7 separate regions of the Homo sapiens genome follow, and all the other regions are linked to region 7. Evidence: promoter capture Hi-C in 16 types of primary human blood cells and fetal thymus (Javierre and others, 2016). All regions are on one chromosome and are shown on one strand. Each heading gives the region's core, a stretch centred on a gene start or on the middle of the fragment in contact. The rest is flanking DNA. Distances are from core to core; before and after follow the strand shown. Region 1 overlaps ZMYM4 (zinc finger MYM-type containing 4). Region 2 overlaps ZMYM4 (zinc finger MYM-type containing 4). Region 3 overlaps CLSPN (claspin). Region 4 overlaps ZMYM4 (zinc finger MYM-type containing 4). Region 5 overlaps ZMYM4 (zinc finger MYM-type containing 4). Region 6 holds the start of ZMYM4-AS1 (ZMYM4 antisense RNA 1). Region 7 holds the start of KIAA0319L (KIAA0319 like).

What was found. Contacts are between HindIII fragments. The CHiCAGO score rates a contact against its expected background, and 5 or more counts as called.
Region 1: a contact is called between a fragment that was not itself captured here and the fragment with the promoter of KIAA0319L in region 7, in 1 of 17 cell types (M1 macrophages). The highest score is 7.5, in M1 macrophages.
Region 2: a contact is called between a fragment that was not itself captured here and the fragment with the promoter of KIAA0319L in region 7, in 3 of 17 cell types (M1 macrophages, erythroblasts and M0 macrophages). The highest score is 6.6, in M1 macrophages.
Region 3: a contact is called between a fragment that was not itself captured here and the fragment with the promoter of KIAA0319L in region 7, in 1 of 17 cell types (M0 macrophages). The highest score is 5.5, in M0 macrophages.
Region 4: a fragment that was not itself captured here is called in contact with the fragment with the promoter of KIAA0319L in region 7 in 1 of 17 cell types (M1 macrophages); the score reaches 5.9 in M1 macrophages.
Region 5: a contact is called between a fragment that was not itself captured here and the fragment with the promoter of KIAA0319L in region 7, in 1 of 17 cell types (M1 macrophages). The highest score is 7.0, in M1 macrophages.
Region 6: a contact is called between a fragment that was not itself captured here and the fragment with the promoter of KIAA0319L in region 7, in 1 of 17 cell types (monocytes). The highest score is 5.6, in monocytes.

The regions. Positions count from the first base shown.
Region 1 is chr1:35,393,085-35,396,544 of GRCh38, reverse strand. It overlaps ZMYM4 (zinc finger MYM-type containing 4), which reads right to left. Exons shown (of 30, transcript NM_005095.3): 18 at 2,806-2,950. Among named protein-coding and RNA genes, the nearest start is that of ZMYM4-AS1, 29 kb to the right of the region's middle. The HindIII fragment of the contact is 2,814 bases long and covers 72-2,885 here.
Region 2 is chr1:35,412,231-35,415,755 of GRCh38, reverse strand. ZMYM4 (zinc finger MYM-type containing 4) reads right to left here. Exons shown (of 30, transcript NM_005095.3): 27 at 1,673-1,784; 28 at 42-290. Among named protein-coding and RNA genes, the nearest start is that of ZMYM4-AS1, 48 kb to the right of the region's middle. The HindIII fragment of the contact is 1,886 bases long and covers 1,165-3,050 here.
Region 3 is chr1:35,748,359-35,752,170 of GRCh38, reverse strand. It overlaps CLSPN (claspin), which reads left to right. Exons shown (of 25, transcript NM_022111.4): 10 at 665-921; 11 at 2,360-2,538; 12 at 2,640-2,704; 13 at 3,567-3,766. Among named protein-coding and RNA genes, the nearest start is that of CLSPN-AS1, 11 kb to the right of the region's middle. The HindIII fragment of the contact is 3,248 bases long and covers 675-3,812 here.
Region 4 is chr1:35,317,201-35,320,781 of GRCh38, reverse strand. All of the region lies in intron 1 of ZMYM4 (zinc finger MYM-type containing 4), which reads right to left. Among named protein-coding and RNA genes, the nearest start is that of ZMYM4-AS1, 47 kb to the left of the region's middle. The HindIII fragment of the contact is 5,150 bases long and covers 1-3,581 here.
Region 5 is chr1:35,346,694-35,350,431 of GRCh38, reverse strand. The region is part of intron 2 of ZMYM4 (zinc finger MYM-type containing 4); the gene reads right to left. Among named protein-coding and RNA genes, the nearest start is that of ZMYM4-AS1, 18 kb to the left of the region's middle. The HindIII fragment of the contact is 3,023 bases long and covers 554-3,576 here.
Region 6 is chr1:35,362,474-35,366,123 of GRCh38, reverse strand. All of the region lies in intron 5 of ZMYM4 (zinc finger MYM-type containing 4), which reads right to left. ZMYM4-AS1 (ZMYM4 antisense RNA 1) reads left to right here and starts at 47. Exons shown (of 2, transcript NR_046659.1): 1 at 47-158. The HindIII fragment of the contact is 2,562 bases long and covers 373-2,934 here.
Region 7 is chr1:35,555,064-35,558,717 of GRCh38, reverse strand. KIAA0319L (KIAA0319 like) reads left to right here and starts at 1,315. Exons shown (of 21, transcript NM_024874.5): 1 at 1,315-1,511. It overlaps NCDN (neurochondrin), which reads right to left and starts at 919. Exons shown (of 7, transcript NM_014284.3): 1 at 495-919. The coding sequence starts at 527. RefSeq lists silencers at 91-300, 1,372-1,511, 1,522-1,621 and enhancers at 1,082-1,141, 431-1,157, 1,158-1,885, 2,686-3,641, 3,642-3,654. The HindIII fragment of the contact is 13,260 bases long and covers 1-3,654 here.

The DNA.
Region 1 (3,460 bases), core at 229-2,728, 160 kb after region 7:
TAACAACAACAAAATCACAAAAAGCAAAGAGGGTTAGAAATGCTTTCATAAGATTTCAAAATAAAAAAGCTTATGGAGGTTTATAGTTCAAAATAAGAGTAACCTATGACACTACAGGACTTCTTACAAAGGAGAAATAACTAAAGTAGCCAAAAAAATAAATCTTGAGTATAGCACTGACAAAAAGTGGGTAACAAATATCAGTGATGTGAGGAGAAAATGAATGCAGGATATAATTTAGATGGATAAATTGAAAGGATTGAAACAGGGAACCTAGAAGACAGGCATGGAAAACCACTTGCTAAAGAGGAGGCTGAATAGGGAGGGGCCATTTCCATCATGCTATAATGCACATTTCAAAATCATTTGTAGCTACTGAAGATTTTTTTAACACAAAGTAGTGATGAAAATGACATCAAAAAAGATTAATTTGGCAACAATTTCAGCACTGAATAAAAAATATATCAACTGTTAAAATAGGAGGCAATTATAATATGTAGAGCTAAGATGATGGGAGACTACTCTAGGTTATGATACCTACAAAAAAGAATAAATATATATAGCAGATGTTCTAAGTATTAAAAGGATGAAACAGAACTTGGAAAAAAACTTGGAGAAAGTAGCAAGATGGATGATTTATTCCATTATTTAACCAGACGGTCCCCAACTTAACGATGGTTCAATACAGGATTTTCCAACTTTATGATGGTGCAAAAACAAGTATATACCATACTTCTGTATAGCACTGAATGAATTACATGGTATTCAAAACTTTATTATAAAATAAACTTTGTGTTAGATGACTTTGCCCAACTGTAGGCTAATGTAAATGTTCTGGGCATGTTTAAAATAGCCTAGGCCCAGTTATGATGATGTTCTGGAGGTTGGGCATATTAAATGCATTTCTGACTCATGATTTTTTTAACATATGATGGGTACAACATTATAAGTCAAGGAGCATATAGAGTCCTTTCTATGTGTCAGAGAATATGCTAGATAAGTGTAAAATCATTAATCTAGGAGAAAGGTAATACTAGGGACAGAAAGAGAAGAGCTAACAATTTGACTAGAGTTAGAAGTGGGAAAATAATATGGCATAAATTTTTTTTTTTAACAGATGGGGGTCCCACCATGTTGCCCAGGCTGGTCTTGAACTCCTGGGCTCAAGTGATCCTCCCGCCTCAGCTGTCCAAAGTGCTGGGAGTATAGGCATGAGGCACCACATTTGGCCAACAAACTTTACATAATACAGCGGACATTAAAAAATTGTTACTTGATTTAGAAACATCTGATAACCAAACTACATAATACTAAATAAACTGCTATTGATTAAAAAAAAAAAAAAAGAACTAAATCATTTAGAGCCTTGCTATTTTGGTGTGGTCCATGAACCAGAAGCACTGACTTTACCTGGGAGCTTATAAGAAATGCAAAATCTCAGGCCTCACTGAATAAGAATCTACTTAGTAAAATTCCTGGATAATTCATGTGCATATTAATCTTTGAGAAGCAATGGCTGACAGGATAGCCTTGCAGCTCTAGAAATCAAGAATTTCCTTCTAGTTTAAAAATTCTGGGACTTTTAAAAATTTTTTAGTAGAGATGGTCTCGCTATGTTGCCCGTGCTGGTCTTGAACTCTTGGGCTCAAGTGATCCTCCTGCCTCAGCCTCCCAAACTGCTGGGATTACAGGTGTGAGCCACTGCAATCGGCCAAAATTCTAGGACTTTTGGATGGCAGCATGAGGAGCTACAAAGATCTATTCCTTAGTGAAACAAGCAAAGAAAGTGAAACTATTTAAAAACAGCCATTTAAATTCTTGGGAAATTGTCCTAAAGGCATATACCAAATGAAGAAACATTTATTCAAGACAATCTGTTCAAATTTGGTAAGAACAGTGAAAGTCTGTGACATTTCAGCCATCACAGGCTTTATCCCCCCAGCTCAATTCAGCTCAGCTTGACAGAAACTCCACTATGGGTAGCTGTGGCCAATAAAAATGGGCTTCTCTCCACTCAGCTCCCAATCAAGTGTTACTGTATCTCATCAAGAAAGGGAGGCCACAAGCATTTCTCATCCGCTCCAACTGAAAGCTGAAGAGGCTAAATTCCTGGTGAGTACGGGCAAGAGGTCAGGGGCTTCCCTTCACCCAGTTTCCATCCACTGGATGGAGGCTCTACCCTAGGAAAAGCAGGCCAAGAACACTGGGATCCTGATCACCCTCACCCCAGCTCACTTGTAGGGCAGAAGTTCCATGCCAGGGGAGGCAAGCCAAGAAGGCCAGAGACTACTACCCTGCCCAGCATCCATAGAGGTGGCTCAGAGATTCTGCCTAGGGGGAGAGGCAGTTCATAAAAAAAAAAAAAAAAAAAAAAAAAAAAAAGAAAGCTCTGAAGCTCTCCTCAAAGGAACTGACTTCATTTGAAACAGTGTGGAGTAGCCAAGAGACTGTGGAGTAGTTCAAACCTAAGGTCACACTGGAAAACAATAGCACCTCCTTAGAAGCCTGTCCATGTAATTCCAAACCTTATGCTTATTCTATAATATTACATTGTCATTAATAAGAGAATTAAATGACTTGCTCACAGTATGGTATCACTGATTAACTTCCTTCTCTTTGACCCAACTTGTTAAGCCTCAGATGCGGAAAATACCTAACTCACGGGGATGCTGTGAGAACTAAATTGGGCAATGTATACAAACAACCAAACACATCACCTAGGAAATAGCAGGTACTCAATGTAAGTAGATCCTACATTTCTTTCCCTTAAAAAATTAATAAAGAAAGAAAGACCAAGGAACATACCTGTCTGGCATTCTTTGTTTTGGGTATGTGGTTTGCAAGAGGTGGCTTTAGTCTGTGTGATGGGTTTGCATAATAAAGCTTTGTTCTTCAAAAGCCTTGGAGGTTGGGAAGGTGGCAGTTTCAGGGCATCTGTTTGAGTACTTGCCTAGTAAAAAAACAAATTAGAAACCAAAAACATTTTTAAAAATCTCATTGTAATTATAAGAAATATTATAATATTAAAGGAAATGTCATATTGGAATTACATGGAGGACATAGCAAGTAAATATTCAACCAAATGTATAAGAAATACAATACTCCTAAAATATTAATAGTAATCAAGGAATGTTTTAATAACTATATATTACTCTGCATGTCTCTAATCACAATTTCTATTTACCAAGAAAAATGCTATTTCTATTGTAACACACTGCTGATCAATAACAATGCTGGCTAAGTTTAAAATGAGAATTCTTACTTCCTGATTAAGACACAGAGGACTTGAGAGATTCAAGATAACTAGGAATAACAGAATCACTTATGATCATTTAAGTAACTTGAATAAAGACAACGTGAAAGTTATCCCAGAAACCTGGAGAAACACCTTAGAAATGCCACTGTTCCAGTCAGAAGTTTTTCTCATTATTTATTTTCTTCTTTTAAGAGACAAAGCAGA
Region 2 (3,525 bases), core at 858-3,357, 140 kb after region 7:
CTAAGACTTCAAAGAGAAATCTGACAAACAGTATCCCGTACCTGGTTCTGACTCCTGCTTCTGTAAAGGTGGGAAGAACCTCAGATATGTCATCTTGGTACTGTACTTCAGAGTCCTGGTCCGTCTCATCACATGGGCAAAGGAAAGCTTCAAGTGCTCAGTAACATTCTTTAGTTGGAAGTATTTGGTATTGAAGAAAAGGAGGGTGTTTAAAAGGACGATTGGTGAGTAAGCGCCCAGCTGTTTGCACTCCCACAAATGCTCTTCCTCAATGCGAGAGAACATGTAACCTAGACAGAAGAAGGGGTACAAGAAACAGTACTGAGCTCCTGCTAAAGTAGACTAAGTAATCTCTCAAATTCTAAGACAGGGAGATATAAAGAGAAAAACTGACTATTCCTCTTTCCCCTCTTCCTTATGCAGAAAACCAGAAAACGCACCACAAAGAAAAAGGCAGATGATTCCACTCAAGTAGACACCGTTCGTGGAGTCTCCTGAAACCGTTTTAATCTATTGATATTTTAGATTAGGGGTTAAGCTGTCTTTATAAAGGGCCAGAAAGTAAATATTTTGGGATGTGTAGGCCATATAGGCTCTGAACAACGCTGTTGCTGTAGAAACTAAGGAGCTGTAGAGAACACATAAACAGGCAGAGCTATATGCCAGTAAAATTTATTTATAGTCATATAATTTTCTTTTCTTTTTTTTGAGACAGGGTCTTACTCTGTCACCCAGGCTGGAGTGCAGTGGCACGATCAGGGCTCACTGCAGCCTCAAACTCCTGGGCTCAGGTGCTTCTCCCACCTCATCCTCCTGAGTAGCTGGGACTACAAGGCACCACCACCATGCCCAGCTAATTTTTTTTATTTTTTGTAGAGACAGAGTTTCACCTTGTTGCCCAGGCTGATCTTGAACTCCTGGGCTCAAGTGATCCTCCTGCCTCAGCCTTCCAAAGTCACACCTGGGACCACAGGTGTGAGCCACCACACCCAGCCATGAATTTAATATAATTTTCACATGATGAAATAGGAATTCTTAAAAAAATTTCCCCAACTATTTAAAAATGTAAAAACAATTTTTAGCTCATAGATTGCAAAACAGGGAGCAGGCCAGATTTGGCCCATGGACCATAGTTTGCAAACTCCTGTTGGAGATCATTAAGCTTACTGTTAAAGGTGCTCTGCAGCCCAACAGAAAGGTGCATATATTACTAAGCATAACATTGAACCTCTTCATTCACCTCAGCCTGAGACCTGGAGTGAATTATGGACTTGTCTGATGACATCTGGTCAAAGATAATTCAAGGACGAGGACTTAACTCTCTTAACAACAGTTCAGTATACATACAAACTACCAAAAAAGGTCCACTGTTAGCAGATATGATATGTGAAAGCTACACCAATGCTACCAGATCAAAAATGGTTTCTAAAAAGGTAAATGTAACTTCAAATTAGTTTATATTTTCTGCAATCAGTATCTATACATGTGCTATATGACTTGTACAGTTTTCCTAAAACAATCAACAATAAACCAAAGACCGTCTCCTCAGAAGTCCAAATATGGTATAAATCTGGACAGAAATAAAAATGAACAATTTTTTTAAAGATAACCAAAAAAGTTAAGCAATTTAAGAAAGCATATCATGAAAACAATAAAAAAAAAATCACCCTACCATTAGGAAGTATTGTAGGTTCCCATATTTTCAAGAGTTTGGTAAGTTCAATCATAAATCTGGAATAGGGCTCAGTAAAAATGTTATCTATTCTACCATTTTCAAACAGGTACTACAAGAAAAAAAAAAGAAAATATACATGTTGATAAAAAGAAAACATGAGTTCTTAAAAAATTATTGTAAGAAATACAGTTTACCCTTAATTTTTGCCCTTACAATATTATAAACCATGTTTAACCTCTCAGTACCTTAGAGATAGTTGTTAAAACACTAGAATTCAAGCTAAAGCTCCTGTTCTTATTAACACATTATCTTCAGCACTGACCTTGCAAGGTAAAGTTTTTGTACTTCGTTTTCAAACACGGATGGTACAGAAGAAGTATTATGAAGAACCCTTTACTTAGTTCCTAAAACTGACATACTAAAACTTGGTTCCAATGCACACGTTCCAAATCATGTTTTTCCTGATTCATAATGTGTATCTGCAGATGTGCTCTTTTGTTTTTTACCCTAGATACAAGATCATTTCTTGCAATCACACAGTTAGCTAATGTCAGTTGACCTGAGGAAACCCAAATTTAAAAACTATTTATTTGGAGCCTTCTAACTACAGCTCTCAACTCTGCCCCACAACCTAGCCCTCAAAAAAGTTCAAGTCTAATTATAGGACATTGAACTATGTTAATTATAACCATTAACAACCATATCATAGGCTAGAACAAAAAGAATACCTATAGTTTAAAAATGTATTGAGCCAGGAATGGTAATCCCAGTGCTTTGGGAGGCCAAGGTGAGAGGATCACTTGAGGTCAATAGTGCAAGACTAACCTGGGCAACACAGTGAGACCCATCTCTACAAAAAATTTAAAAACAAATAGCCAGGGGTGGTGGTGCATGCCTGTAGTCCTAACTGCTTGGGAGTCTGAGGCAGGAGGGTTGTTTGAACCTGGGAGTTTGAGACTGCAGCAAGCTATGATCATATCACTGCACTTCAGCCTGGGTAACAGAGCAAGACCCTGTCTCTTTTAAAAAGTACTGACGGCGCAGGTCAGATAAAATCAATTGAGACAGGGACACACCATGAGTAGTAACGGAATCCAAGGCAGCATGTAATTACGTGATAAAAGTATTTTGGTGTTTTTAAGGTTTAGTATTTTTAATTTATATTTCTGTGGCTATCTTGGTTTCTTGCATTTCTATGTATGATTTGGAGAAAATTATTTCCATTTAAATTTATTCTGGCTAACAAAAATTACCACTTCAATAGGCATTTTTATGAGGCCTCCTCAAAGGCAATTTATGAACTTATTGGCAGATTACAGTTTGTTGTTCAACAGTATTCCTCTTTTTCTTCTTTTAATATAGTCACTTTCAAGCTTAAAAATATATCTTCGTTATTGAAAAAGTTCAAAATAAAGAAAAAGTAGACTATTCAAACTCATTCAAACTCATCACACAAAGTCAACTACTATTCATATGCAAAAATATTTCCAATCTTTAAGAAATTCCATTATGCAGAAGTGAGTTTTGTACAGTTACAGAAATATATCAGTACATATAACGCAACATACATGTTTAAAAAAAGTCTCTTCCCCCTTAACCAGGAACAAGACAAGAATGCCTATCCTTGCCATTCTTCGTCAACACTGTACCGCGAATCCTAGCAGAGCAGCCAGGCAAGAAAAATAAATATAACGCATTCAAATAGGAAAGGAAGAAGTAAAATTATCTCTAGTTGCAGGTGACAGAATCCTATATATAGAAAATCTTAGAGAATACACAGAAAAATGAATTATTAGAGCTAATAAGTGAATCCAGCCAAGTTGCAGCATATAAGCAATACACAAAAATCA
Region 3 (3,812 bases), core at 1,049-3,548, 190 kb before region 7:
TATAGTGCCAGATATATGGTGGTATATTAGATGAAAATTCCTTACAGTGGAATTGTCATGATATATATCACATTTTGATATATATCATCCAGTTGTCTTTCAGAATGGTTGTACCACTCTGAATCACAGTGTATGAGTTCCTGTTTCCTCTCAATAGGTATTATCAAACCTTCTAATTTTTGCCAGGCTAACATGTCGAAAATGTATCTCGTTATTTTGATTTGTAGCTCTTCAATTAGAAGTGAGATTAAGCATTACTTTTAATTTATTAACAATATATGTTTATTTTTCGTGAACTGCCAGTTCATATCATTAGCTCATTTTACTCGAGTCGTTTCTCTTTTTCTTTAATATAGGTAAATTTATCAATGTTTTTCTTCATGGCTTTTGAGCCACAGACTTGAAGCTCTACTCCCTACCCACCTTTTCTCTCTTTTGAACAATTATTTTATAATCCCTGAGTAGTATACTATCTAGGGTGCAGAAGTTCTCTTTGATACTTCAATTCATAATAATACTCTTGTGTTCAAATAACAAAAAAGCCCAGAATACTAGAGTCTCAGATTTTCCTTTTGGGATGTGACTAGAATATTTCTGGAGTTGCCTAAAATGCATACCTAATTATTGTATTATGTCTAAAGCATTTCTACATATTTCTGTTCAGGTGAAAAGCTTCAGGTGTTAAAAGCTAAACTGCAAGAAGCAATGAAACTCCGAAGGTTTGAGGAGCGCCAGAAGCGCCAAGCACTGTTTAAATTAGATAATGAAGATGGGTTTGAGGAAGAGGAGGAGGAAGAGGAAGAAATGACAGATGAGTCTGAGGAAGATGGAGAAGAGAAGGTAGAGAAAGAAGAGAAAGAGGAAGAACTAGAGGAAGAGGAGGAGAAAGAAGAGGAGGAGGAAGAAGAAGGAAATCAGGAGGTTTCTGGCAATTACGTTGTTTTGTTACCTTGTCATGGTGAATATGAGAGAAAAAGTCAGACTTGAAAAAGAGTATAATAAGCATGTTCAATTGTATAAGAGGTTTTAGGGGCATGATGAGGGTAACTACCTCATATATCCCTAAATCTTAGGAACTTCAGTTCTGTCAGTACCACTGAATATCTGTAGATCATCATTATATATCTGAATACAGATATTCAGTGGTACTGACAGAATACCATTGCCTGGGCTTCCACCTGTTTATATATTTTAATATAATAATGCTAATATTAAAAATGGCTTTGTATTCGTAGGAAATTTTATCTTTGTTGTTTATTTAGGTTTCTCTAGCAGATTAAAAAGCAGTCCTAACCTTGGCTAGATTGAGGCCTGGAGTAAATTCTTAGGGAGGTAGAGGCCTTTCTGAGTTATTTTCGTTCTTTGTAGAAGAAGGCATTTGTAGAAGGGCCTCTTGCCCTTGTTCCGTAGTACTGTTTTCTGCCTAGGGAAAACAGGTGATGATACGATTGTTAAGTATTAAAAAACTTTCCTTTTTGGGCCGGGCAGGGTGGCTCATGCCTGTAATCCTAGCACTTTGGAAGGCTGAGGTAGGTGGATCACCTGAGGTCAGGAGTTTGAGAACAGCCTAGCCAACATCGTGAAAATCCATCTCTACTAAAAATACAAAAATTAGCTGTGTGTGGTGGCACACACCTGTAATCCCAGCTACTCAGGCAGGAGAATTGCTTGAACTTGGGCAGTGAAGGTTGCAGTGAGCCAAGATTGTGCCACTATACTCTAGCCTGAGCGACAGAGCAAGACTGCATCTCAAAAAAAGAAAAAAAAAAAAAAACTTTCCTTTTTGTATGCTGGGATCACTTTATTTTATTTTATTTTATTTATTTATTTAAATTTTTTTGAGATGAGGGTCTCACTATGTTGACCAGACTGGTCTCGAACTCCTGGCCTCAAGTGATCCTCCCATCGTTGTGGCCTCCCAAAGTGCTGGGATTACAGGCATGAGCCACCATGCCCAGCAACTTGAGTTATTATTTAATTTTGGGTAAAGGAGAAAGAAAGCAATGGCTGAGCTATACAGCCTGTCTCAGTCTGTGCTTGGTTTGAGATCAGTAGTCAGCCTGCAATCTTAGACTGATTAATTAACCTCTTACTGCCTCAATAAAATGATAATCCAGTCGTCCTTTATAATCTTAGCAATTTCGGGAGGGTAGAAGGTAAAAAAAAAAAATAGAAAAAAGTTCTAGAAGTGTCAGGGAAAATTATGTTGATAATGGTCATATGGAACTTCCTTCAAGTTTACCTTTTTGAATTTAAGATGTGATCTGTAACCAATCAGCCATATTTCAGGCTACCAGTGTATTTGCTTTTAAATGTTTTGACTTGTATTTTTTGTTTTGTGGTGGCCTGATTGGTAAAGACTGCAGAATTCCTTCTTAGTAGTGAAGAAATAGAAACAAAAGATGAAAAAGAAATGGATAAAGAAAATAATGATGGCAGTAGTGAAATTGGCAAGGCAGTTGGCTTCCTCTCTGTTCCCAAGTCTCTCTCATCAGATTCTACTTTACTTCTGTTTAAGGACAGCTCTTCCAAGATGGGGTAAGTGATTCTCTCTAAGAAAACTTAAAATTGCCTTGGATTTGCCCCTCCTGTAAAAACTAGGAACAGATACTGAACCAATTTACTTTCTTATTTTGCAGTTACTTTCCTACTGAAGAAAAATCAGAAACAGATGAAAACTCAGGCAAGCAGCCTAGCAAACTGGGTAAGTAGTGATTCTTGTGCAGAACTTAACATTTCTTTTGTCCCTCAGCTTTGATATTTAAGGACTGCAGTACGGTAAGTTTCCATGTTTTTAAATCTGGTCACTTCCCAGTTTCATATGTAGCTATGAAAAGGGTTTATGAATTAGAATATTTTTCTTGGTCTATTTTTTGCAGTTTATTTATAGTAGACCATGGTACATAATGTCCTTAGTGAATGTGTGTTGATTGAGTGAGCAATGAAATGTTTCTGTATGTAGATCAAAGGAAGACGTATAATTGATTGGACAATGAAGAGTGTGATCATAGGCATTAGGAAGGATAAGAGAAAGAAGAGAACTTTCGGCCAGGCGCAGTGACTCACGCCTGTAATCCCAGCACTTTGGGAGGCTGAGGCAGGCGGATCATGAGGTCAGGAGATCGAGACCAGCCTGGCTAACATGGTGAAACCCTGTCTCTACTAAAAATATAAAAAATTAGCCAGGTGTGGTGGCACGCGCCTGTAGTCCCAGCTACTTGGGAGGGTGAGGCAGGAGAATCGCTTGAACCTGGGAGGCGGAGGTTGCAGTGAGCCGAATTCACGCCACTACACTCCAGCTGGGGTGACAGAGCGAGACTGTCTCAAAAAAAAAAAAAAAAAAAAAAAAAGAACTTTCAAGTGTCACTTAGCTCAGAGTAATAAGCCCTGATTATATAATGCTATCTTAGTACTGTAATTTACCTTTAACTTAATGTTTTGGAACATATAACTTGAGGGGTTTGCCTATGAATTTTATCTGACAGTTTCATCCTCAACTCTTTTTCCTAAACAAATCCACCTTATTTCTGTAATCATGTGCTTAAAAGGTGTTTCTCTTTCTTTAGATGAGGATGATTCATGTTCATTGCTAACAAAGGAGAGCAGCCACAATAGCAGCTTTGAGCTGATTGGCTCCACGATTCCATCCTATCAGCCTTGCAACAGACAAACAGGCCGTGGGACCAGTTTTTTCCCTACAGCAGGAGGATTCAGATCTCCTTCCCCTGGGCTATTTCGAGCCAGTTTGGTCAGCTCAGCTTCTAAGGTAAGATGGTAATGGTTTTTCTAATCTCCTCCTCTCTTTGCTTCCC
Region 4 (3,581 bases), core at 745-3,244, 240 kb after region 7:
GATATGTGGGACTTTTTCATCACACACCAAATATCTAGCAGACACCAACTGTGTGTCCTATAATTCACTTCAATTCTGACACTATCTACCTAGAATTAAGAGTAAGATCCCACAGGTTGAAGGCTCAGTCCAACAAGGCTGCCTCCCACTTCAGATACCAATCACAAGCCCCAGGCTGTGACTTGACCTTGTAACTGGCCAGCTATATAACTTGGGGTGTGCGCAACCCCCACCTCAGGTTCAATTAATTTGCTAAAGCAGCTCATGGATCTCAGGGGAACACATTTACTGGTTTATTATAAAGGATACTACAAAGGATACAGGTGAACAACCTGATGAAAGAGATGCATAGGATGATACATGCTGGGGAGAGGCATGGAGTTCCCACGTCTTCTCTGGGCATGCCACCTTTCCAGCACCTCTGTGTGGTTCAGCAATCCGGAAGTTTTCTGAACCTTGCCTTTGGGGTTTTTATGGAGGCTTCATTATGCAGCCATGATTGAGTAAATCATTGGCACTGCTGCTCAACTCGATGTTTAGCCCTCTAGTCATGTCTTGGTATTTTTGGTGACCAGCCCCATGCTGAAGCTATGGAAAGGCCTGGCCCTAAGCCCAAGTCACTCATTAGTACACAATCCACACTTATCACTTCAGAGATTCCAACAGTTTTAGGAGCTGTGTGCCAGGAACCTGGGGCAGAAACCAAATATGTATTTCCTATTATATCACAGTATCACACTAGCCCAAAGATATTTTTATTTGTTCTGTATTTAGTAGCCTAGCACCTACAACACTGCGTAAAATATAACAAAAACTCAGTCTTTGCTAAATAAAAGAATCATTTCTATTAGTTAATAAGCAGTTTGAAACTTGTTTATTTAAAAAACTTAACCATAGAGTGTACTTTAAATTTTCCAAAACTCCCAAAGTTTCCACTGAAGTTTCAAATAATTTGTATACTTTCAACAGACCACTCCAAATCAAATGTCCAATCCTATTCCTATTCCTTCAACCGCCACAATGAGTAATGTTAGTCTTTCCCTGTTGCTACTCTGATTTGGATGTCCCTTAGTTTTTCAAATGTATTAATCCTGATGATTTTTACAATCATTTTTTTCAAGTTTCTCAATGTGAGAAATTTGTTTTGGAAAAATTTTTTTGAGACGGGTCTTGCTCTGTTGCCCAGGCTGGAATGCAGTAACATGATCATGGCTCACTGCAGCCTCAAACTCCTGAGCTCAAGGGATCCTCCCACCTCAACTCCCAAGTAGCTGGAACTAGAGGTGTGCACAACCACGCCCAGCTAATTTTTTAAAATTTTCTGTAGAGACTGGGTATTGCTATATTGCCCAGGCTGGTCTTGAACTCCTGGCCTCGTGATCTTCCCACCTCAGCCTCCCAAAGTGCTGGGAATGCAAGCATGAGCCACCACACCCAGCGATATTATATTTTTTATACAGGCAGCTACCACGCAGAAATATAAAAACGACTATGCAAGCTGAAACCATGCAAAGCAATCTTAATGATCAAAGAGAAAAATTAAAATTGTTCCATGATCTTTTTTTGTCAAAACACTTGAAACGTTAAAAACTCTGTCAGTTTGGCCAGGCACGGTGGCTCACACCTGTAATCCCAGCATTTTGGGAGGCCGAGGCGGGCTGATCACCTGAGGTCGGGAGTTCGAGACCAGCCTGACCAACATAGAGAAACCCTGTCTCTACTGAAAATACAAAATTAGCTGGCCATCATGGCCCATGCCTGTAATCCCAGCTACTCACGAGGCAGGAGAATCACTTGAACCCGGGAGGCGGAGGTTGTGGTGAGCCAACATCATGCCACTGCACTCCACCCTGGGCAACAAGAGCGAAACTCCGTCTCAAAAACAAAAACAAAAACACTGTGTCAGTTTAAATGTGTAGGGAAATGAAAAAATATTGTATAACTAATATTTGCTTACTACGTTATAATTTAAAATGTGAGAATCAAAGGGTTTTATTTATTTGTAAAAAATCTACCAGGAGTATGGCTGGGCACAGTGGTACATGCCTGTAATCCCAGCACTTTGGTATGCCAAGGCAGGCGGATGACTTGAGGTCAGGAGTTCAAGACCAGCCAGGCCAAGATGGTAAAACCCTGTCTCTACTAAAAATACAAAAATTAGCCAGGTGTGGTGGCACATGCCTGTAATCCCAGCTATTTGGGAGGCTGAGGCAGAAGAATCACTTGAACCTGGGAGACGGAGGTTGCAGTGAGCCGAGATTATGCCACTGTACTCCAGCCTGGGTGACAGAGCGAGACTTCGCCTCAAATTAAAAAACAAAAAAACAAAAAACCCTACCAGGAGTAGACAGTGCCTGCCTTTGTCTTTTCCTATGTAACTTGTGATACAGAATAAGCAACTTTTCCATGCCTTAACAAACTGTCAGCCGGGCACAGTGGCTCACCCCTATAATCCCAGCATTTTGGGAGGCCAAGGTGGGTGGATCACCTGAGGTCAAGAGTTCAAGACTAGCCTGGCCAACATGGTGAAACCCTGTCTCTACTAAAAATACAAAAATTGCCAGGCATGGTGGCACGTGCCTGTAGTCACAGCTACTCGGGAGGGTGAGGCAGGAGAATCACTTGAACCCGGGAGGCAGAGGTTGCAGTGAGCCAAGGTTGCGCAACTGTACTCCAGTCTGGGTGATAGAGTGAGACTCTGTCTCAAAAAAAAAAAAAAAAAAAAAACTGCCATAATCCCTTCTAAATTTGAATTGGCTTCCAAAATTATACCCTTTGCTCTTTGAATCTTTTGAGTATCTCAACGAGTTGTGTTACTGTGAAATTTGTACCAGTATTACTTCCACTATGACATTCGTCTCTTTGTTACAACATTTTCCTCATTTATGTTTGTAAGTTTGTCTTCACTGAATTCTTCAGGTGACATATCTACACACTCCCCTTTATGGCCACTTGAAGATCCTATGTCTTTCATTGCATAAGTTAATGATGGGCTGCATTCCAAAAAAGACCTATCCCATCAACATGTTAAATAGCTGATGATCACAATTACCTGCCTTAAGTAATCTCTGGAATCTGGGCACAAATTTCACAGCAGCATCCCGATCTGTTCTAGCATCTTTACCAGAAAACTTATCAACAATCTATGACCATTCTGAAATGATCAAACCAGCCTTTACTGGCAACAAGAAGTCCTTCGGTTGGCTTGTAATTAGTTTTCTTTCAGTGCAACAACTAACTTCAATGATTCAGCCTGAATGCTAGCCAAATTGACTACATTTTATACAATTTATTTAAATTACGTGATAAAGCTATCTATCTATCTATCTATTTATTTATTTATTTTTTGAGACAGAGTTTCACTCTTGTTGCCCAGGCTGGAGGGCAATGGCGCAATCTCAGCTTACTGCAGCCTCCACCTCCCGGGTTCAAGGGATTCTCTTGGCTCAGCCTCCTGAGTAGTTGGGATTACAGGTGCCGCCTTCACACCTGGCTAATTTTTTGTGTTTTTAGCAGAGACAGGGTTTCACCATGTTGGCCAAGCTGGTCTCGAACTCCAGACCTCAGGCGATCCACCTGCC
Region 5 (3,738 bases), core at 816-3,315, 210 kb after region 7:
CTTTAATCCCAGCTACTAGGGAGGCTGAGGTAGGAGAATCACTTGAACCTGGGAGGTAGAGGTTGCAGTGAGCCAAGATTGTGCCATTGCACTCCAGCCTGGGCAACAGAGCAAGACTCTGTCTCAAAAAAAAAAAGTAATTTCAACTTTAGAAATCATGGTTCTCTAACAATTCCCTGAGATTGCTACTTTTTTTTTTTTTTTTTTTCAAGATGGAGTCAGGAAGATCACTTGAGCCCAGGAGTTTCAGATCAGCTTGGGCAACACAGCAAGACCTCGTCTCTACAAATAAAATTAAAAAACAAGCCAGGCATGGTGGCACACACCTGTAGTCCCAGCTACTCAAGAGGCTGAGGCAGGAGGATCACTTGAGCCTAGGAGTTGAAGGCTGCAGTGAGTTATGACTGCGCCACTGAACCCAGCCTGGGTGACAGAGAGAGACTCTGTCTTTAAAATATATATATATAAAAAATGAAAAACAAAAATTAAATTATATAAATTAAAAAATGAAAAACAAAAACAAGGTGATTGTGATTTGCTTTAAATAAAAGCTTAAGTTAGCACTTTGTTTAGTCACAGAAACTTTTTTTTTTTTTTTTTTAAAGACAGAGTCTGGCTCTGTCTCCCAGGCTGGAGTGCAGTGGTATGATCTCAGCTCACTGCAACTTCCACTGCCCGGGTTCAAGCAATTCTCCTGCCTCAGCCTCCCAAGCAGCTGGGATTACAGGTGCCCACCACCACGCCTGGCTGGTTTTTTTGTATTTTTAGTAGAGACGAGGTTTCACCATGTTGGCCAGGCTGGTTTCGAACTCCTGACCTTAAGTGACCCACCTGCCTCAGCCTCCCAAAGTGCTAGGATTACAGGCATGAGCCACCGCGCTCGGCCGCTGTCACATAAACATTTCTAAGGGATGATCTGACTATCTGCTATTCAATAAAATATAATTTCCTAAATAATAAAAACCCCTTTATAAGATCACAATGTAATTCAACAGTCAAAGCCAAAAATCATTAAAAATGAAACACAATTGCCTTAAACATTTATTTTTACTTGAGACATACAAAAGCACATTTACCAATCATTTAATATCAGCCAAGATTTTGATAATGGCTATACTAATATGTCTTTCTTAACTAAACCACAGGCCGGACACCATAGCTCACGCCTGTAATCCCAGCACTTAGGGAGGCTGAAGCAGGCAGATCACTTGAGGTCAGGAGTTCGAGATGAGCCTGGCCAACAGGGCAAAACCCCGTCTCTACTAAAAATACAAAAATTTGCCAGGTGCATGCCTGTAATCCCAGCCACTCAGGAAGCTGAGGCACGAGAATCGCTTGAACCCAGGAGGTGGAGGTTGCAGTGAGCTAAGATCACACCACTGAACTCCAGCCCGGGTGACAGAGGGAGACTCCATCTCAAAAAAAATGAAATAAAAATAAATAAATCACAACCATATAGGCCATCTTCATGATTGCAATCTGAGTTTCTTTAAAATGGAGGGAGAAAGTAAAGACACTTGCACATCCATGTTTTTACTGACTTGCTTAGTTTTTCTAAAGCACTCAAATTTTCACAGAAACAACAGTTTACTTTTCAAAGTAACATTTCACTAGTGTAAAAAAATGTACATGTTAACTTATATAATTACAATGGCAAGTATTAATAAAGTTTGGGAACAAACACAATAAATCTTGGTAAGCATGCTGAACTGTGTGGCTGTGTCTGAAACTACTAGATGCTCCTCAACAGCCACTCTAGTTTTCTCCTTTAGTGACAGACCGTGATTCTTATCAGAGCACATTTACAATAGAAAAATGGTTAATTCTTATGTATGATCCTAAACTGAAAAAGAATCATAGTTATTAATATGGCAATAGCCAAAAGAAAACTCTGCATGAGAACGAGATAATAACTACAATGTAATAATTTAGTCTTCTTTCAAGTTGCAGGGATGGGCACATTAAGGAACCAGTATTTTTTTAATGGGCTAGAACAGAAAGCGAAGTGTATCATATAGAATGACAATAAGTAATGCTACAAGAAATGTTTGTGTACACACAGAAATACACATGTATATGTCTCAATGTAAAATATATTTCTAACAGTGTTTCAAAAATTTTTTTAAAGTTTGAAACCAGTGGAATATTTAGATCAATCTGATTTTATAGCTTACCAAAAGGTGATAAATATTTACACTTGATACATTTCTGATAGAAATGAGTTTGATTTTTACCAATTTTAATAGTCAACTTACGCACTAAGGCTTTAAAAATTATGACTTTGAAGTACAGTATAAACCATTTTATAAAACAAATTGTTGTTTTTCAATATGAGAACAAGTACAACAGACTTTACTTTTTAGAATGATCCCTGTTATTTCTAGTGTTCTGGCAACAATGATCAAGAAGATTAGAGGTATCTATATAAACTGATAAAACATTCAGCAATTACCTAAAAACTGTCAAAAGTCTATTAAAACTGAAGCACATCACTGTAATAAACTATCATCTTACTGAGTAAAATTTTCATATCTTATTACATGTCAGTATTTCAAAGAGCATATTACTTTTGTAAGCAGAATAACATAATAAGCAAAATAATAAATACAAAAGTCATTTTTGCCAATAATTGCAGAAGCACAATACCACAGAGATATGGGGAGACGGTACCAATGACCCAACTATACCCCAATCTTTAGGCCCATAAGCATTCCTACTATTCTTCCTTCTAATTCCAAAATTTCTGTAACATAGTTCTGTTACTTATAAAACAAAAATCTGTATTTTCATCTTCTCTCTTCACTTGTCACAGCAGATTTAGCTGATATCCCTTTCTATTCAGATAAACAAGAATCTGTTCAAGCCCTAAACCTAATTTTTAACGCTACCCCTTATAATCCAGGAAAAAAAAAAGAAAGCAATGTTAAAATAATCCTTTATTAAGGGCTTTATAACTGTAGAGACAGAGTAACTTGTACTTTTTTTCCCTCAATGGCATCAGTAAATTTATAACAACTTCATTTTTTTACTCTCATAAGTTCATTAACAGAATAAACCACTTCTACTAGAGCTCATACTATCTGCAAAAATGGTCAATGGAGATTTTTTTGAAAATAAAAATAGAAGGCTGGGTGCGGTGGCTCACGCCTGTAATCCCAGCACTTTGGGAGGCCGAGGCCGGTGGATCACCTGAGGTCAGGAGTTCGAGACCAGCTTGGCCAACATGGTGAAACCCTGTCTCTACTAAAAATACAAGTAATTAGCCAGGTGTGGTGGCGTGCGCCTGTAATCCCAGCTACTCAGGAGGCTGAGGCAGGAGAACTGCTTGAACCCGGGAGGTAGAGGATGCAGTGAGCCAAGACAGTGCCATTGCACTCCAGCCTGGGTGACAAGAGCCAAAACTCCATCTCAAAATAAATACATATATATAGAAGAAGTCCTAATTAAACAATTTTATCCAGGGCCTATTTCTGGATGGCTCTAAGCTAAGAATGATTTTACATTTTTAAAAGGTTGTAAAAAGAAGAATAAGGAGAATGCAAAAAGTCATATTTGTTGACCACAGCCAAGAAAGCTTAAATATTTACTATTTGGCCCTTTAGGAAAAAGGTTTGCTAACACTACATCTATAGAAATGTTGCTATGTGTAGTTCACACAGTACAACTGGCATTATGGTAGAGAAATAATACTGAGTTAAATAGGCTTAGAAAGCTACTTAGGGAAATTATCTATAGAAC
Region 6 (3,650 bases), core at 404-2,903, 190 kb after region 7:
TAGTGTATTAAAGAAAATTTCCTTAAATATTTTTATTTTAATCTCAGAAAACTCCAGAAACAACCAATACTCATTGGCATACATTAACGGTCTGCAGTCAGCTCTCTTAGTCTCTGTGATGGCTATTGCAAACTTCTGCTGGATTCCTTTAGCCTTGAGTACGTATTATTTATGTAATATAGTAAAATAGTATACATCTTAAGTACTGTTTGTATGGTCCACAATGCCTTCAAGGCACAATCATGTTTGGTTTATGTTTGGATCCTCCCATGATCACTAATTTTACAAGTATTTGATAAACAAATCAATGAGTAGCCAAATACTAATAAATATTTTCTGAGAAGTAAATATCTAATTGGTAACCCAAAAGCTTTCAGAAGCAGAAAAACACATGCCAAAACACAAAAAAATTCCTTTACCAATACCTTTACCTTCTTAGTTTACTACAAATGAAGATCAATATTAATATCCCATGAAAGTATTTTAGAAATGAATAACACAGTTTCTATTGCCAAATTAACTCAATATGGCTAAAAGAGCCCCAACATTTGAATTACTACATTTTCTTTCCAAAACTGTGTGAATGACTATTATGACAATTAGTTCATTTGCTTTCCCATTTTAATTGAGTTCTTTCAATGAGAGACTACACATTAGCTCGTCCTCTATTATTATGAACAAGAAGAAAAAGAAATCATGACTTTAATGTAGTATTTACTGAATGTACAGTTTTTAGACCCTATGGAAAAGGCAAAAGAGGAAAATGAGGTCTCTGGCTCTCTTTAAAGTATCTATTTTGAAACCTTCCCTTGGTATTTTTAAAATTAAACAACTTTTATTTACAGAAAGATTGGTAGACTAAAAAAAAAAAAAAAAAAAAAAAAGACTTTGATTATGACCCCAGATTGGCTCCTTCCTGGCCATGAGGGCTTGAGTAACTAAATCTCTATATCTCTCAGCTCTCTCACCTATAAATGTTAACATCCTCTACTCTGGCCATCTTATACAGGGTTGTTAGGCGAATTAAGCAACACAGTACGTGTAAAAGCATCTGTAACTGTAAAAATACTACAGAAAACATTATAGAAACATGCAATAGAATTAGAATGAAGAAATGAAACTGTGAGACCCAATGACATTATGCCAGTAATAGAGGCAGGAGGACGGACAATGACTGGCAAATCCAGAATATCATAACTGAAGAAATAACCAAGAGCAAATGGGTAGAGGAAGTTAAATACATACACACACATTTCAGCACCTTGTTTATATAGTAAAGTAAAGAAATTAGGACCAAAATGAATTGTGTAAAAAAGAGAATTAGGAAGTGAGCTAAAAGCAAAACTACCTAAATTAAGCACAAAGAAAAGCCAAAGGAAGTTTTGAAAAGGTGCCATAAACTAAAGCTATGATTTTATTGAACCATGAAAGAAGTTACTGGTAACTGATGGTCAAAAGTAAACACTGACCACAACTGTAAAATCTATCAGTATTTTATGAGAGGCTAATAGTACTTTTTTGAGACTAATAATATAATACACTAGAGTTCTCTTTTCCAGTCCATGGGAAATGAATAAAAGTAATAAATTATGCAATTTTGAAAGGCAATACTCTTCTAAAAGAAGGAGGGAAGGTGGAGACGGGTGTGGAAAAGACAAGAAAAAGAAAAGAAGGAAAGAATCACATATCTAGTTTATAACATGAGAGCTGCTCTGGGGGATTTCTAGAAGAATTATCAAAGGTCTGATCCTATAGGACTGGTATTGCTGACAACAAAAAGGACTCCTCAGGGAAAACCTAGCTCTATCCACTCACATACTACAAGTCCCTTATTGTGGGGTCAGGGTAAAGAATGCTTTTGGATCTTATGCCCAGGACCTACTCACATTACTGCTTAATTCTCAAGTCCAATCAATCAGGGAGTAAGCCTTTGGGGAAGTTCTTCCCATAATCATGATGAAACTTCATATTCATATTCAGTATTTGATAACACATTTTATAATTCTGAATAAGTATATAAAAATTTAAGTGTTTCTATCTGTTCCATCCTATTTATATTCTCCAGCCACTGGAACCTCTGATTGTTCTGAAAACAACAATACTAATAACCTTCTCAGTGTTCTCTACCCCTATTGTATTTGGTTTATGCTCTAAGTGCCTTTTTGTCCCAAGGAAGTGTCACATGGTTCAAGTACAAAAGAAAGAGATGATTTTGGTACCCTGCCAGCATGCCCACATTGGGGCAGGAGAAGAGATACAAGATCTGCCCTTCATATAGACATGGCTGTAGTCTTCTGAAGCATATACTGCCACATGAACTTTCCCCAGGTGTTGGGACATCTATTTATCCCTAATTCAGATATCTAAGATCTCCATTACCTGCTTCTATAAACATGCTTTTATTTACCTTCTATTTAAATAGAACAGAAAAATCTATTTATATTCCTTCTACTTTCTTCTTTGTAGCAAGTATACTCATATCCATCCAACTCCTATAGCTTTATCACTACCCTAACACATCCAACTTCCACTGAACGTCATGGAATTCATGCTAACTGAGCATCAATTTGACTCAGTGACTCACATGAATCACCAACCTCTGCAATCTCCTATTCTTCCATCTGCTTACTCTAATACAATGGTTCTCAATAGATCATTTTTTGTTAAAATTGGCAAGGGAGGAGGCTGCTACTGGCATGTAGTAGGTAGAGGCCACAAATGCTTACTAAATGTCCTGCAATGCACAGGACATTTCTTCACAACAAAGAATTATCTGGTCCAAAATGTCAATGCTGTGGAGTTTGAGAAATCCTGTCCAAAAACATCTAAATGAAAAATGCACTTGACCAGGCACGGTGGCTCACGTCTGTAAACCCAACACTTTGGAAGGCCATAGCAGGAGGATCGCTTGAGCACAGAAGTTAGAGACAAGCTTGTGCAACTTACTTTACCAAAAAAAAAGTCTCACTCTGTCATCCAAGCCGGAGGGCAGTGGCACAATCTCAGTTCACTGCAACCTCCACCTCCTGGTTCAAGTGATTCTCCTCCCTCAGCCTCCGAAGTAGCTGGAATTACAGGCACCCGCCACCATGCCTGGCTAATTTTTTGTATTTTTAGTAGAGATGGGATTTCACCAGGTTGGCCAGGGTGGTCTGGAACTCCTGACCTCAAGTGATCTGCTGGCTTCAGCCTGCCAAGTGCTGGGATGACAGGCGTGAGCCATCACGTCTGGCCCCTCTACAAATCTTTTTTTAATTCGCCAGTGTGGTGGTACACGCCTGTGGTCCCAGCTACTCAAGAGGCTGAGCTGGGAGGTTCACTTGAGCCTGGGAGGTTGAGGCTGCAGTGAGCAGTGATTGCACCACTGCATTCCAGCCTGGGCAAGAGAGCAAGACCTTGTCTCAAAAAAAAAAGAGAAAAAACAAAAAGAAAGAAAAGAAAAAGAAAGCACTTCCACAGAAGTCTGACAGTCTCAAACCTTCTAATATAAACAGAAAGATAGGAAAATATAAGCTTCCCCCAGATTAAATGTCATTTCAGAAAAAGAGCCAATTCATACCATCTTTACAAAACACAGATACCCTCAAATAATTGCTGCTATTGCATATTCGTCCCTTGGACCCCTTCTTGCACTTCAAAATGATTGCAGC
Region 7 (3,654 bases), core at 66-2,565:
GTGAGGACAGACAGGGAGAAATGGAGACATACATGGGTGAAGTTCGATTATCCGGACTCAGGCTGACATGGGAGAAAAGGACACCCCAGGCTTCCTTTCCCCTCCCTTCTTCAGAGGCAGAGATACGCTTCAGAAGTGAGAATACAAGACGCTCAACAGGGAAGGCTTGGAGGCCCCTTTGGGGACCCCACCCCTCCAGCCAGGGCTCTCAGTCGCCCCCGCAGGCTCCTTGCCTCCTCTCCTTTCCCTCCCTCGGGTAGAGGCTGCAGCAGCAGCAGCAGCGGCGGCGGCAGCAGCAGAATTAACCCCTTGCGCTCCCTCTTCTCGCCCTCCCCGTCCCGCTACCAGCCTGTGGATGCCGGCAGGGGCTGGAGAAGCAAGAGGGGGTCCCGGATAGTTCCCAGGACAACGGAGAATCCAAAAGCCGGATAATCGAAGCAGGGCTGCTGAGATGGGGAGATGAGAAGGGGAGGAGGGTTCCTGGCGGTCACCACCTGTCCCGCCGCAGCCAGGTCACAACACGACATTGATGAAGTCACGACAGGGCGGCGATGAGATCACACTTCACGATGGCGCGGTGATGTCACGGAGAGATCACGTCAAAATCACGACATGGGAGACAGCCCCCAAAGATGACAGGGCAAATTAAAAAAAAAAAAGATATATATTGAAAAGGGCTGTGACAAAATGGAGTCTCGACAGGGCACGATGGTGTCGCGATATGGCGCGATGGAGTCGCGATAGGGTCCCCGGGGTGTGTCGGCATCGATCAGCGCCGGCTCGGAGAGGCCCCGGCTGGGATGCAGGGGAGGGCCCGAAGGGGGCTGAGCTCACCAGGCTGCGGCCCCGAGCGGCGAAGTCTTCTCCCAGCGCGATGCTCCGGGAGCCTCGGGCCGCTGCTCACGCCGCGTTGCCCACTCCTGGCTCCAGGCTGCTGCAGCTCCACCCCCACCCCCGCACCGCTCTTGACGAATCCGCGGCTGCTTCACTCCGGGCTCTGGCCAATGGCAAGTCAGGGTGCTAAGCAGTAGGGGGTGCCGCCGTTGCCGCCATCTTGCTTGTGGGTATTGCCCGAGTCTGGGGGCTGGGGCTCGAGCGAAGGAGGCAAGGTGCAGACTGCCTCTGGAGAGCGGGCGGCGAGAGGCTGGGGGCCCAGATTCCTTCGCTTGTGCGTAGTTTTACCCGCCCAGCACTGCCCCTCCTCCCCCTTGGTCTCGCGGCCGGCATTGCCCTTCCCGGGGGAGGGGCGGGAGGGCTTGGTTAGCATGGAGAGTGTGTTTCCGGGTCGGTCCCGGGGAGGTGGGAGGAGGCGGTGTTTCCGGCCGCCGTCGCTGTCCAGGGAGGCTGAGGCGAGAGGTAGCTGTCCGGGTGGGGAGCCCGCACTACCTTCTTCCTCTTCCTCCTCCTCCTCCGGGTGAGGGGAGCGAAGGTTGGGGGTCCCCGAGCCCATGGACCAGGAGGAGGCGGAGGCCGCCGAGAGCCGGGGCCCCGCTATGTGGCCCTGAGCCCCGGTAGGTGGCCGGGGGCGGCTGGCTGCCAGGCCGAGGACCATGGGCTCAGGGGAGGGGCAAGCGGGACGGGCGATGTCAGCGGCTGCGCTGGCCGGATGTTGGGTCCGGAGGTGGCGCCCCTGGCTCGGCCAGGGCAGCCAGCTGCTTCTGTCCTTGCAGGTGCGCAGCTTGGGTCCCAGGCTGAACCCCGCTTCTCTCGGGCCTGGGCCTAGTCATGCAGCTCCCTCCATCCCCTGAGAGCCAGGCAGACAGCCGGGGTTCGGGGCGCTGCCGTCCTTCTTCCACCTTCGACCTCTGCAGCCTAGTCTTTAGTTGCTGTCTCTGATGTTTGGTCTCTCCACCGAGATAGAAAGTTGGTGCAGAATGAAGAGGGGATGGGGTTGAGCACGATGTGTCCATTATAATGTGAAACCTGCCTCATCCACGATTTTGAAAATTATGCCCCACAGAGGGTCCTGTAGTGGCTGCAGTGAGCACAAAGGTGAAATGAAGGAAGTCAAAATTGATAACCTCTGGCGGGATTCCAGGAACTCTTTGGCTTCTGGTCTCATAGTGGTTGTGTCCAACTGACAGTAGTTGCAGTTAGTGAAGAGCATTAGCTGACTCTCCTTGTGCTCTCTCCTGTGATTAACAGACTGAAAACTAGGAACAAATTGGAAAGACGACCTCCCAGAACAATCTGTTCATTTTTCCAGCTATTTGGAAAACAGTGTCTGCAAATATAAGCAAAGCTATTCATGGCAGTCTGTTCTGTAACTTTCCCAAATATCTGAGACTTTTTAAAAAAGAGCTTTATTCTCGATTACTCATACCAACTGAATAGATTGTTTCAGACGTGCTCCATCGTTGTTCAAACATATCTTATCGCTGTGTACATAAATGGAGTTCCACGTATGTAGTTGACAGACTGAACTGTGATACATCCCCCATCAACCTGAAGTATTAAGTAAACATTACCCCCTGCTCTGTCTGAACAGCTGCTGCAACAGAGAGTGCTTTTATTTTGGGTGTACTTGTAACGCCCTAAATGCCAGAACTATTGTGAGCTTCTCTAGATTTTCATTTGTCAAGTATTGTGGGGGTGTGTGTTCTCTCCCTGGGTTGTTACCCTTTGATTCAGTAACAAACTATTCGGATCTTGGTGATGTGTTGTTGTTCTTGCGTTTGGTCAGCAAGCCTTTAACTGGACCCTAGCAGTGATTTGTGCCCTTAGGCAATTATAGGTTTCAGAGGAATGACTGGTTAGGAGTTCAAATGAAATTAACTCTGCCTTTCTCTTAGACGCAAGATTTATTAGACATGGCACTTCTAATCAGCTTGTTAGTCCAGTGGTGTTTATTACTCCATTTTTCAAAAGCTATTCATTTCTTTTCTGCTTCTCCCACCCACCTGTCAGGCTATTGATGACAGCTGTTGAGTCACCTTGAGTTTTAAATCCTTTTGTGGTAGGCAGAAATGTGTTGGGTAAGATTCATACACACCCATACATGCACACATGCATACTCACTCGTTCCCTCTTGGGAGGCTAGAGAAATTGCTGGATGTACTTTCTAACTTAGGCTCCATTTCATAATCTCTTGAACATGTCTCTGGCCCACACACCTCCTTTCTGCCCCCTGCTCCCTGAAATACAACTACAAAACAACTAGAAATAGGAATGGATGGAAGTGAATGAGAACGATGAAGTCCTTCAGATGCATGTGGTTCTGCAAAAGCCTTTTCTTGGGTGGGCTGCACCTTAGTTTTGCAGCTGTGTGTATGTCTGTGGCTGTTTCTTGGTATTAGTCAGTATTGGTATCCAGCCCAGGCAATGCTGATCTCCCTGTATGCTGGCCGTGGATAGGAGTTAGGGGTTGGCAGCCTGTGTCGTTTGCTGGATGTAGATGACAGGTACATAGTTGGACAGAAGTTTTTGAATTGCTTCTTCAGAACTCAGTCAACCCTCATAATGTTGCCAATATTTACGTACTAATTTAGACAATATAGCAAAGTTTTATATGAGGGGAGAAATTTATGGTAAATGAGTTTTTCTGCTGGAAGAGACCTAAATAATCCAGCCCCTAGATTCTGGAGTAGCCAGCATAGTGCCTGACGTAAGTATCTGTTGAATGCAGGGATTGGGGTGGGTAGCATTGAGGTGTAA